2 separate regions of the Homo sapiens genome follow, and region 1 is linked to region 2. The links are contacts of gene promoters, found by promoter capture Hi-C in blood cells and fetal thymus (Javierre and others, 2016). All regions are on one chromosome and are shown on one strand. The core of a region is centred on a gene start or on the middle of the fragment in contact, and the rest is flanking DNA. Distances in the headings are between cores, read along the strand shown.

The links. Contacts are between HindIII fragments. The CHiCAGO score rates a contact against its expected background, and 5 or more counts as called.
Region 1: a contact is called between the fragment with the promoter of ZNF8 here and the fragment with the promoter of ZNF585A in region 2, in 1 of 17 cell types (total CD4 T cells). The highest score is 5.8, in total CD4 T cells.

What each region holds. Positions count from the first base shown.
Region 1 is chr19:58,277,638-58,283,570 of GRCh38, forward strand. ZNF8 (zinc finger protein 8) reads left to right here and starts at 1,318. Exons shown (of 4, transcript NM_021089.3): 1 at 1,318-1,510. The coding sequence starts at 1,445. ZNF8-DT (ZNF8 divergent transcript) reads right to left here and starts at 1,105. Exons shown (of 3, transcript NR_187495.1): 1 at 886-1,105. It overlaps ZNF8-ERVK3-1 (ZNF8-ERVK3-1 readthrough (NMD candidate)), which reads left to right and starts at 1,329. Exons shown (of 7, transcript NR_144447.1): 1 at 1,329-2,972. RefSeq lists enhancers at 1,394-1,443, 1,864-1,913. The HindIII fragment of the contact is 22,069 bases long and covers 1-5,933 here.
Region 2 is chr19:37,170,216-37,176,482 of GRCh38, forward strand. ZNF585A (zinc finger protein 585A) reads right to left here and starts at 2,480. Exons shown (of 5, transcript NM_001288800.2): 1 at 2,412-2,480. RefSeq lists enhancers at 2,381-2,570, 2,412-2,706. The HindIII fragment of the contact is 2,114 bases long and covers 1,342-3,455 here.

The DNA.
Region 1 (5,933 bases), core at 68-2,567, about 21 Mb after region 2:
CAACCTCCGCCTCCCAGGTTCAAGCGATTCTCCTGCCTCAGCCTCCCGAGAAGCTGGGACTACAGGTGCCCGCCACCACGCCGGGCTAATTTTTGTATTTTTAGTAGAGACGGGGTTTCACCATATTGGCCAGGTTGGTCTCGAGCTCCTGACATCGTGATCCACCCGCCTCGACTTCCCAAAGTGCTGGGATTATAGGCGTTAGCCACCGCGCCCGACCTTTAATAAACATTTTAATGGACTACAACAGACCCACAGAAAAAGACACATCACAAAGTGAACACCCACAGGGAGAAGCAATAGGGCTGTCAGAGGCATTCGACCCAGAGCGACTCCATTTTGAGTGAGGGCTAGGAAAATGAGGCTGGGCTGCATTCCCAGAAAAGTAGGTATTCCTAACCTCTAGATGTTTACGGTTAAGGGAACAAATTAATAATGGGTACTAAAACAGACCCAGACTTGGGAGTGTCCAGATATCCCGGTATCTAGAGAACAAAGGCATTCCTAATTTTGCTTTAAAAATAATATCGATTCTTGAAAAATACAGTAAGAAAATTAATCCTTTTTCACAAACCCTTGTAGCAGAGCACATCTCCCCAAAATCTATTTTTAGCCCAAATATACACAAGCATTGTACCTAGGGTGCATACGTTCCTCTTACTTTCAGGAACGTCCTACTGTCTATGGGGTAGCTGTTTCACAACTTTACTTTCTCAACAAACTTGCTTTTACTTTGCACTGCGGACTCGCCCTGAATTTTTTCTTGCGCGAGATCCAAGAACCCTCCCTTGGGGTCTGAATCGGACCCCTTTCCTGTAACACAACCACCGCTCCCAGCCTCCCCGCTTCCAGCCGCTAAGCCCAAAGTCTTTTATATGAACAAACCTCTAACTCGTCCTGTGACTTTGATGCGTGTGCGTTTTAGGCACCGGGGAGCAGAGGGTAAAGCGGCGCAGCTCCGGGCCTCCTCCCGCGCAAGTTCCCGAGAAGAGCAGGTCCGGCCCGCGCAGACGTGCACGGTCCCCAGCCATTAGGAGGAGCAGACGGTCCCCACCCCCACAATCAGTCATCTCTCGGGGTCCGCCCTTGCTTCCTGCCCACGAGTGAGGCCTCTGGTTGCCCGCAACCTAAGGGGCATCGCAGCCCCGAGCAACACCGCCCCCACCAGCCTTAGCTGAGTGCTCCCATTGGCCAGAGGCCAGCGGGTGGGGGCTCCCATTGGCCATCGGCCATAATGCTTCCATTGGTCGAAGGCCAGACCAGCGGAGACTCCCATTGGCCGAGGGCTGTGGTTCGCCGCACGGCCTACTGGGAGTTGTAGTCGCCGCGTCGCCGGTGCGGCCGCCATTGTCCGGCGTTCGGCGAGTCGGGTGGTCCCTTTGGCTGGAGTGCCTCTCTGGTCTGGGGATCACCTCAGGCGCTGTCCTTCACTGGGCGATCCAGCATGGACCCCGAGGACGAAGGGGTAGCGGGAGTGATGTCTGTGGGGCCGCCGGCGGCCCGGCTTCAGGTAACAATAACAACAATAACGACGGCGGCGGGCTCCGGGCAAGCGTCTCCCGCGCAGACTGACCCTTTCACCTCGCGGCGCGATGAGAGCGGCACCGCTGTTAATGCCCTTGACACGTGGGGAAACTCAGACGCGGGTCGGGGCGTGGTGACCGTCCTGGCTGGTCAGAGAGGGGGCCGGGATTCCAACCAGGCGCCTGGCCCCCGAATGCGCATGCTCCACGCGGCTCTGTCCTCCCCAGGGCTGGGGTCGGTCATTCCCGAGAGAATCGAGCAGGCCCATCTCCTGCGTTCTGCTCCGCCCCGCCGACACCCTTGCCCATTCCAGGAAGGTCTGTCCTCGTGTTGACTGATAACAGTAATTGTAGCGTTGGCCGGGTGCCCAGATGGCAAGAATCATCGAATAGAGATGCTTTAACGCGTGGAGTCAGCGGACACCCACCGGGACCCCAGCACCGCGGAGCCCCTGCCCTGGGGCTTGGGCACAACCTCTTGGGGGCAATGATGGGTCACCACGCACTGAGTGTGATGAGAGTGACCACCAGGGTCGTCCCCTGCGAGACTGTGGGAGAACTGCAGTGCAGGGCGGTCAGTGTTTGCAGGGCCATCTGGCCATCAGAGCTCCACTTTCTAGACAAAGTGGTTGCGGCCTGTGTTCTCCATAAAGCTGCCTCGCGTGGCAGGAAACAACAATAATTATCCTTCCTCAAGCTCTGCAACTTTGAAATTATACTTTTTTTTATTTTTTGTCGTTGGTTTGTTCATGGGGATTTGCATTATTTCAGATTTGGTACACAAAGTGAGACTTGATAATCTTAGGTTGCAGGTTTTCAGATGTGTGTTGCTCCAAATTTGCATGAAATGCTACCACGTTTTATTTTGTTCTTGCTGTGGATGGGGGACAAGGAATGAGTCGTAAGAAAGGCTTGAGAGAAAGTGTATTAGTTACCTGTTGCTGTGTAACTCAAAACTTCGTGACCTGGAACAACAATAAATATCTCACGAGTTCTGACAGGAGTAATGGAATGTCCTAGCTGGTGGTTCTGGTTCAGGCCCATGAAGTTACAGTGAAGATGTCAGCATAGCTGTTGTCACCTGAGACCTGAGTCTGGAGGATCCACCTCCAGGATGGCTCACTCACATGTCTGTTGATAGGAGACCTCAGTTGTTCTCCATGTAGGCCTCTCTTTGGAACTGCTAGGGATCCTTGCAACATGGCATCTGGCTTCCCACAGAACAAGTGATCCAGGAGAGGGCAAGGTAGAAACTGTAACACCTTCCATGACCTGGATTCAGAATTCACACTCTTGTCACTTCCACGGTGTCTTACTGGTTACAAAGTCAACCTTGTTGAGTGTTGGAGGGGACCACACCAGGGCTGGAGGTCATTGGCAGAGGTGGTGGGGGAGCATCTTGGAGACTGTCCATCACAGGAGACAAGGACCAGAATGGAGAGCTTCAAGGTCCAGTGTTTTATCTGGTTATCTGTGTCTGCTGTAACAATTCACTACAAATTTTGTGGCTTAAAACATTTGTTCTTAGGTTCTGGAGGTCAGAAGTCTGAAATCGGTTTTCTGGTCTGGAATCAAGGTATGAGCAGAGCTACCCTCCCTACCAAGGTTCTAGGGTAGAATGTTTCCTCGTCTTTTCCAGCTGTGAGAGGTACAGACCTTCTATTCCTTGCCTCATGGCCCTTTGCCTGTCTTCAAAGCCTGCATTGTAGCATGTTGCTTCAGTGATCATATTGCCTTATGTCTTCTATAGTCATAGCTCCCTTTGTCTACCTCTTATAAAGACACTTGTGATTGCATTTAGGGCCCACCTGGATAATCCAGGATAATTTTTCTGTTTGAAAATCCTAATCACATCTGCACAGTTCCTTTTACCATATATAGTAATATTCACAGGTTCTAGGAACTAGGACCTGGATATCCTTGGAGGCCATTATATATCTCAGTCTACCATAGCCAGGCTGAGAGGAGCCATCCAGTATTCAGTGATGAGAAGGAGCCATTCACGTGTTTTAAGCAGGACTGGCATAGGGTTGAAAAAATCCACTTATGCATTAGGGGCTGGTGGGAAGGGAGATACTGGCAGCTCAACTAAGGCAGTGGGAAAAAGAGAGGAGTGGTTAGGCCCAGTGACCAGGTGTTGGCTGATGCTGGGGTGAAAAGAATATGTAAAGGAGAAACATCAGAGCACAGCCCCACCCCTTCAGGCTCCAGAAGTGCAAGACAAGAGGGAAGGCTGCAGGGATCTGATGTAGGGCAGAAAGAACATCATGAGACAACAAGGAGTGGGCTTCTGCTAGAATTCCAAGAAGGAAGCCAAGAGGAGGCATGAAGGACTTGTATGATGCCACTGAGAATTCTCATGGCTTGGACAGACCAGTACTCAGTGGACGTGGTGTCTAGGCTGTCACCAGTGACTCTTGCAGAATGGGTGATGATGGGAGGTGGGGGCAGGAGGCACGGGAAGCACAAATCAAAATTGGTGGGCATTCTGAGTGGAGGAAAGCGAAGACACAGAGACAGGAGCAGAGACCTCAGTTCCCAACCAAAGGCATCTTTCTGTATGTTTCCTATTAGAGCCACCTGCTACCTGTACTAAAATTTCTTTCTTATTTTTTAATCTACTCATGTTTTTCTTAAAAGGAAATGTCCTTTTAAAATTGAAGTATTTGGGGCCTGGTGCAGTGGCTCATGCCTGTAATCCCAGCACTTTGAGAGGCCACAGCAGATGGATCACTTCAGGTTAGGAGTTCAAGACCAGCCTGGCCAACGTGGTGCAACCCCATCTCTACTAAAAGTACAAAAATTAGCTGGGTTTGGTGGCACATGCCTGTAATCCCAGTTATTTGGGAAGCTGAGGTGGGAGAATCACATGAACCAGGGAGATGGAGGTCGCAGTGAACCGAGATTGCACCACTGCACTGCAGCCTGGTCAACAGAGTGAGGCCCTGTCTCAAAATAAAAAATAAAAAAATTGAAGTATTTAGTATATGTGGTTTTGTTTTGTTTTTTAACCTAGCAGCAACACTGGTGGTGTATAGTTTTGATTTTTCATTTCCCTGATGACTAATGATGTTGAACATCTTTTCATGTACTTATTTGCCATTTGTGTATCTTCTTTTATATATTCTTCAAAGAAATAACTATACAGATTCTTTGCCTATTTTAACTGGGTTGTCTTTTTATTACTGAGTTGTATGTGTTCATTACATATTCTAGATACAAGTCTCTTATCAGATATGTGATTCCCAATTATTATCTCCCATTCTGTGAGTTGTCTTTTCACTTTCTTGCTAATGTCCTTTGAACTACAAAAGTTTTTGTTTTGATGAAGTCCAATTGATTACATTTAGTTGCTTATCCTTTTGGTTTCATATCTAAGAATCCCTTGCCAAATCCAAGGTTACAAAGATTTATCTCTCTGTTTTCCTCTAAGAGTTTTATAGTTTTAGCTCTTACTTTTAATTTAATTTAATTTTTTTTTTTTTGAGATGGAGTCTCACTGTGTCGCCCAGGCTGGAGTGCAATGGCATGATCTCGGCTCACTGCAACCTCTGCCTCCTGGGTTCAAGCAATTCTCCTGCCTCAGCCTCCCAAGTAGCTGGGACTACAGGAGCACGCTGCCACGCCCGGCTAATTTTTGATATTTTAGTAGAGATGGTGTTTCACCATGTTGCCCAGGCTAGTCACGAACTCCTGAGCTCAGGCAATCCACTCGTCTCAGCCTCCCAAAGTGCTGGGATTACAGGCGTGAGCCACTGCGCCCAGCCTCTTACATTTATGGCTTTGTTTCTATTTTATTTTATTTCTTTTTTTTCTCTTCTTTTTTTTTTCTTTGAGACAGGATGTCACTCTGGTTGCTTAGGCTGGAGTGCGGTGGCATGATCTTGGCTTGCTGCAACCTCCACTTTCCAGACTCAAGCACTCCTCCTACATCAGCCTCCCAAGTAGCTGGGACTACAGGCAGCCTGGCTAATTTTTTTCAAATTTTTTTTGTAGAGGCAGGGTTTTACCATGTTGCCCAGGCCAGTCTTGATCTCCTGGACTCGAGTGATCTGCCTGCCTCAGCCTCACAAAGTGCTGGGATTACAAGCATGAGCCACTCTGCCCAGCCAGCCTAATTTGTTTTGAGTTAATTTTTATATATGATATAAGATAGAAGTCTGTGTTAGTTTGAATGTGTCTCCCAAATTTCATGTGTTGATAGTATTTGAAGGTGGCGACTTTTGGGAGAAATTTAGGATTAGATAAGGTTATCAGGATTGGACTCCCTTGATGGGACTAGTGGCTTTAGAAGGAGAGAGAGACCTGAGCTGGCACACTCTTGCCCTCTCGCCATGTGATGCCCTCCACCATCTTATGTCATAACAAGAAGGCCCTCACCAGATGCCAGTACCATGATATTAGACTTCC
Region 2 (6,267 bases), core at 1,230-3,729:
AAAAATTCTCAGCCTACTCCACAGTTTCTGATTCAGTAGGTCTAAAGTAGAACCCAAAAAGTTTCGTTTCTAACTGGTGCCCAGGAAACGCTGATGCTGTCAGTACAGGGACCACACTTTGAGAACCAGCGCTGAGGAGAACATAAAATTTAACAAAATCTGTGATAGGTATTAGTTACGGTGAAATATGGGAAAAGTCATGAGAGATGGAGTAATGTTACTGCAGATTTGAACTGCAGCTCTGACACTTTTCACCTATGAGAACAGAAGTTTCTTCACTTTCTTTTGAGACGGAGTCTCGCTCTGTCGCCAGGCTGGAGTGCAGTGGTGCGATCTCGGCTCACTGCAAGCTCTGCCTCCCAGGTTCAAGCAATTCTCCTGCCTCAGCCTCCCAAGTAGCTGGGATTACAGGCATGCGCCACCATGTCCAGCTAATTTTTGGTAAAGACGAGGTTTCACCATGTTGGCCAGGATGGTCTGGATCTCCTGACCTCCTGATCCGCTCGCCTCTGCCTCCCAAAGTGCTGGGATTACAGGCGTGAGCCACTGCGCCCAGCCATTTCTTCACTTTTAATTTCAGAAATGAGGATGAAAATGCTTATCTCAAAGTTACAAAAATTAAATGAGATAATACTTGTAAAGTACTCAACACCTCCCAGGCACACAAAAATCATACAATACATATCAGCGATTACCATGCATTATCAGATATTAAAACAATATAAAAACAATGTAATAAAAACAAGTAAAACAATAAATATACCAGACAATATTGATCTATATATGTGATAAAAGTGGTATTCAAATGAGTGTGCATAAGACATTCATTGCATAAATGGCAGTGATATAATGCAGTGATATAACTGGCTGGCCACCTGGAAAAAAACAAACTAGATCTCCATCACACACTATTCAGTAGGCAAATGCCAGCAGGACTGATCACTTAATTATGTGTATTTGTTAAATCACAAAGACTATTAAAATAAATTTTAGAAGTATACATGTGTATAACACTGTGGTGGGCTGGGAGGGATCTTATTACACGTGAGAGGAAACACAGACTCTGTAACAGAAAAATCAGATACTTTTGATTAGATGATATTTCCTAACTTTATGTTAAAATATACCACAAAAAAAAGTAGGACAAAAGATATGAAAATTCACAGAAAAGGAAACAAATGGCAATTAACCAAATAAGATGCCAACTTTAGTAACTGGAAAATGCATTGGAGCAATTAGATATAATTTTCCCTCAAAATTTTAAAAACTTTTAAAATGCAACAATATCCACTGCTGGAAAAGCATCTGGGAAAATGAGTTATTTTATAAATTGTTGGTATAAGCTTGAATTGTTATATTTTGAGCTACTTAGTCATATCTATAAAGTATTAAAAATGCACATATGCCGGGCGCAGTGGCTCACGCCTGTAATCCCAGCACTCTGGGAGGCGGAGGCAGGTAGATCACCTGAGGTCAGGAGTTTGAGACCAGCCTGGCCAACATGGTGAATCCCCGTCTCTACTAAAAAATACAAAAAATTAGCTGGGCGTGGTGGCGGGTGCCTCTAATCCCAGCTACTCTGGAGGCTGAGGCAGGAGAATCCGTTGAACCCACTAGGCAGAGGTTGCAGTGAGCTGAGATCGCGCCACTGCACTCCAACTTGGGTGACAGAGCGAGACTCCATCTCAAAAAAAAAAAAAGTGCACATAGTTATTCCTAATAATTTCACATATATAAAGCAGAAAAAGAAGGACAAATGGACAAATAACCTTTCCAGAGTTGAGTACTTTACCTTCCTCTGTAATTAAGCAGACAAAATAATCTGTGAGGAGACAGATATATTTTTTGAATATATGCTTAATTAATATCTATAACAATACAATTAGAGAACATAGTACACTGTTTCTATGTAATAGATGTGACATTCATGAAAACTGACCACGAACTAGGTCATAAAGCAATTTTTCAATTTGACCATTAAACAGACATTACTTTAAAAAGGAACTTCTAAATAACTCATGGATCAAAGAAAAAACCACTTAGATTTGAACAATTTTTAATACAAAGATTCACCAAAACTTGAGAATTTTTATATTAAAGAAGACTGAAAATTAAAAAGCTGAACTTTCAACTCAGGTTAGAAAGCAAGCTGATTACAGTCCTCACCGATCACCATAACTGACCCTACAGGCTCTGTCACTGACCACAGACTCCCATCACTGACCCCCAAACCTCAATCACTCATCCCAAAGAGCTCCATCAATGACCTGAGAAATCCGTCACAATCAACAACGGACGCCACAGAACCCCATCACCGAAGCCTGAAACCGCAATCACTAACTCCACAGGCAACCTCGACACCCCCTATTACTGGCTCCACAGAAACCCCAATCGTGATCAACCAAAATCACCTCAAAGATTTATCGGTATTGGAATATGAAAATACTCCTGACACCAGCGGCAAAAAAGCCTTGGAAGACCACTTCCACTTCCGGTCCGACTTCTAGCACCTCCCCTTTGTAGGCTGTTGATATGGCGCATGCTCTGAATAAACTTGGAAGCCAGTTTCCTCGAACAGTCAACAGGGCGCAGACACAGCGCACAGGTTCCGTAATGTGGCGCTGTCCGGCAGAGAACATGGCCGCGCCCTTATGGTGTTTATTCGCGTGGGCCGCCATTTTGAAAGCATATCCATTCCGTAGAGCAGAGGAATTGGCCGCTGGCAGGGTTTCCTAGAGCGAGGCAGGTATAGTTACATAGGATGCTGGAGTGTGACCCTTGTCTGACTAGGCTTCTATTTCGGAGGAGAAAGTTACTGGAAATGTGGGTCTGGTGCTGTATGTTATATTTAGAAAAGCTAAGTTACCTTTCTGAATACAGGACACTGAGGATAATAATTACCAGGGAATAGAGGAGCCAGGGAAAAATCACCAAGTGAAGGGGATCCTGGGAGAAACCACAGGCAGATGATAGGAGGAATCAGGATAGTACAGTCCATTTTTTACAGACGCCATTCAGGGAAAAGGTGGAAAGGTCACTAGGGGAGTCATCTCTTGAGTGAAACCACCCTGAAAGTCTGAGAGACATCTGAATGAGTAGTAGGCTGCAGGAAGAGTGGTACAACTTTTAATGGGAGAAACCGCCTTGGGAAATAGGGTAGAAGTCCAATAGTATTAATACAATCCTCTCCTGGGAGATACCACCAGAGGAGGGAGGAGAAGTCCGGGCGTCCCCTTCTGAAGGGCTGGGTCGGGTGGGAAGGTGAATAGAGATTTGAATCACCCATTACCCTCCACACTAAATACCTCAAGTGCAACTATAGTAGGCAGCAATAATAACAACACTAATAGTCTTTAGTATGGCCAACGTGTTACTAAAAGCACCTAAAGAAGACTGTTTTTATTTACCTTGAAGTTAAAATATAATTAATAACAATCGCCTTACCATGTCAATGAAGCTTTAAGTGCAGTCTCTGACCCTTAGCTTCTCCTCTGTGGAAATTCTGAAACCTCCTTACTCCCCTTTTTGGAGGGTGTGGATGAGGAGTTGTAAAGATACAATTCCTTTCACTTGGTGAACTCCTAAACATGATTCACAGCTCAGCTTCTGACAGGAAGTTCTACCTGAACAGTGGTGGGAAATTACTACCCAATGTGTTCAGTTCCAGCAGGTGGGAAACTTGTTTTCAGGGAATTGAACCTACACTCTGATGTGGGCATGCTGGATGCCTTCAGGCCAGTTATGTCTGTCTCTGGGACTCGGCTTAAAAATATGTTTAGAGAATTAGACTCTGCTGATCTCAGGTTTTCTTTCTTCTCCGAAAGGACGGTCTAAGGAAACATCTGTGGAAGTCCGTTAGTAAACACACAATTTCTACCAAGGGGCTAAGAATTACTGTTGATTTTGTCAGTAATGCAGCTCTGTTAAAAAGAAGATGACTTAACTTTTAGGGATTCGTGTGGAAATATTTATGGGTGGAATAATATTAGCTTTAAAAACTCCACTGAGAAAAAAAAAACTCCACTGAGAAGGGGTATATGGTATTGCAAAAGAAAATGTTGATAAATGTTAAAGCAGAGTGATAAGTAGACAGAACTCATTATAATGTTCTCTTCCATAGTATTTGTGTGAAATTTTCATAGTAAATTTCTAATTTAAAAAGAAAGGAATTAAAAACATTTACAAGGAAACATCAAGAAGACAGCAGGTGTGGTCATAGTGTTAGGGAAGATGAAACCTAGGAGACCCAGAGTGACACCATTTTAAGTTCAGCTCCATCTTGACACTAGCAAGGCACATTCATTGCAAGTCACAACTCATGGTCCTAATGTGTTTACAGCGAAGGAAGCAGCCCTGTAATGCCTGCAAAGACAAACTCCTAGAACAACAGAAAGTCCAGATGTCCAATACCCATAACAATAAATGCTTTCAAGATCATTATAGTTATACTTTGATGTACTTACTAAAATGTCAGGGATAGTTTTCTTTAAATCAATAGAATAATAAATTTTGTCATAATGTCAGGCCACCCACGCATAGGCACAGCTTACTTTAGTCTTTACATAGACAAGACCCCTATATAAGAAAAGCTTAACAGATGTTCCTCCACTTGCTTTCTGAGGACACCCTACTCTGTTGTGGAGTAGCTTTCAATAAACTATCTCTTCTCACTGCACTCTACAACCCACCTGGAATTCTTTCCTGCATGAGATCAAGAACCCTCTCTTGGAGTCTGGATTGAGACCCTTTTATTTCCATAACAATAGTATTATACAAACACAGGCATACCTCAGCGATATTTAGGGTTTGGTTCTAGACCACTACAATAAAGCGAGTCACACAATTTGTTTGGTTTCCTGGTGCGACATACACTGGGGCCTGTTGGGGGTGGGGTGGCGGGAGGGAGAGCATTAGGAAAAATAGCTAATGCATCCTGGGCTTAACACCTAGGTGATGGGTTGACAGGTGCAGCAAACCACCATGGCACACGTTTACCTATGTAACAAACCTGCACATCCTGCACACGTACCCCAGAACTTAAAATAAAAATTAAAGGCTGGGTGCCCGTGGCTCACGCCTCTAATCCCAGCACTTGGGGAGGCCAAGGCAGGCGGATCACGAGGTCAAGAGGTCGAGACCATCCTGGCCAACATTGTGAAACTCTGTCTCTATTAAAAATACAAAAATTAGCTGGGTGTGGCAGTGCACACCTGTAGTTCCAGCTACTCGGGAGTGTGAGGCAGGAGAATCACTTGAACCCGGGAGGCAGAGGTTGCAGTGAGTTGAGATCGCGCCACTGCACTCCAGCCTGGGCGACAGTGCAAGACTCTGTCTCAAAAAAATAAAATTAAAATTAAAAAAGTCTATTTTGAAAAAAATAGAGAAAGAAAACAACATGAGAAAGAAAAAGGAACATTACTACTGAGAGAAAGATTTAAAACTCAAGAGAATTCTAAGGATATTTTGAGAAATCCATTTGAAAATGTAATAAAATAGGAAGTTTCCTAGGAAAACACAGATGAAAATTGCCATGTATAGGAAGAAAATTTGGATAGGCCAAAAACAATAAAAGAAATTGAATTGGTAGCATATGCAAAAACCAATCCTATGTGTATTAATGATTCAAATGTTAAAAACATAGCTTTAAGACTTTTAGTAAAAATATTAGTAAATGTGTTTTAGACTCTGTGGCAATGGAAAGATCTCTTAAACAGAACACCAAAAAAGTATTATATATAAAAGGTTGATAAAACTGACTATATTAAAATAATAATTTTTGTTCATCAAGTGATAGTAAAGAGAATGAAAAGGCAAGGTATAAACTGGTGCAGATACACATAGAACACAGGCTACCCGAGATAGCAGGAATATGCTTTTTAAAAAACCCTCCAAATCGGCTGGGCGCGATCTCGGCTCACTGCAACCTCCGCCTCCCGGGTTCAAGCGAGTCTTCTGCCTCAGCTGGGATCACAGGCGCCTGCCTAATTTTTGTATTTTTAGTAGAGACGGGGTTTCACCATGTTAGCCAGGCTGGTTTTGAACTCCTGACCTCAGGTGATCCACCTGCCTTGGCCTCCCAAAGTGCTGGGATTACAGGCGTGAACCACCGCACCCAGCTATGCATGCATTTTTATGCGCTGGGAGTGAAGGTGTAGGATTAACCAGCCTTCTCAGGAAAAGCATTATAGCTATGCTATAACTATTATACTCTGTTATAACTACAGCATAATTATATACAACACTATAACAGAGACTGTGAATGATCAT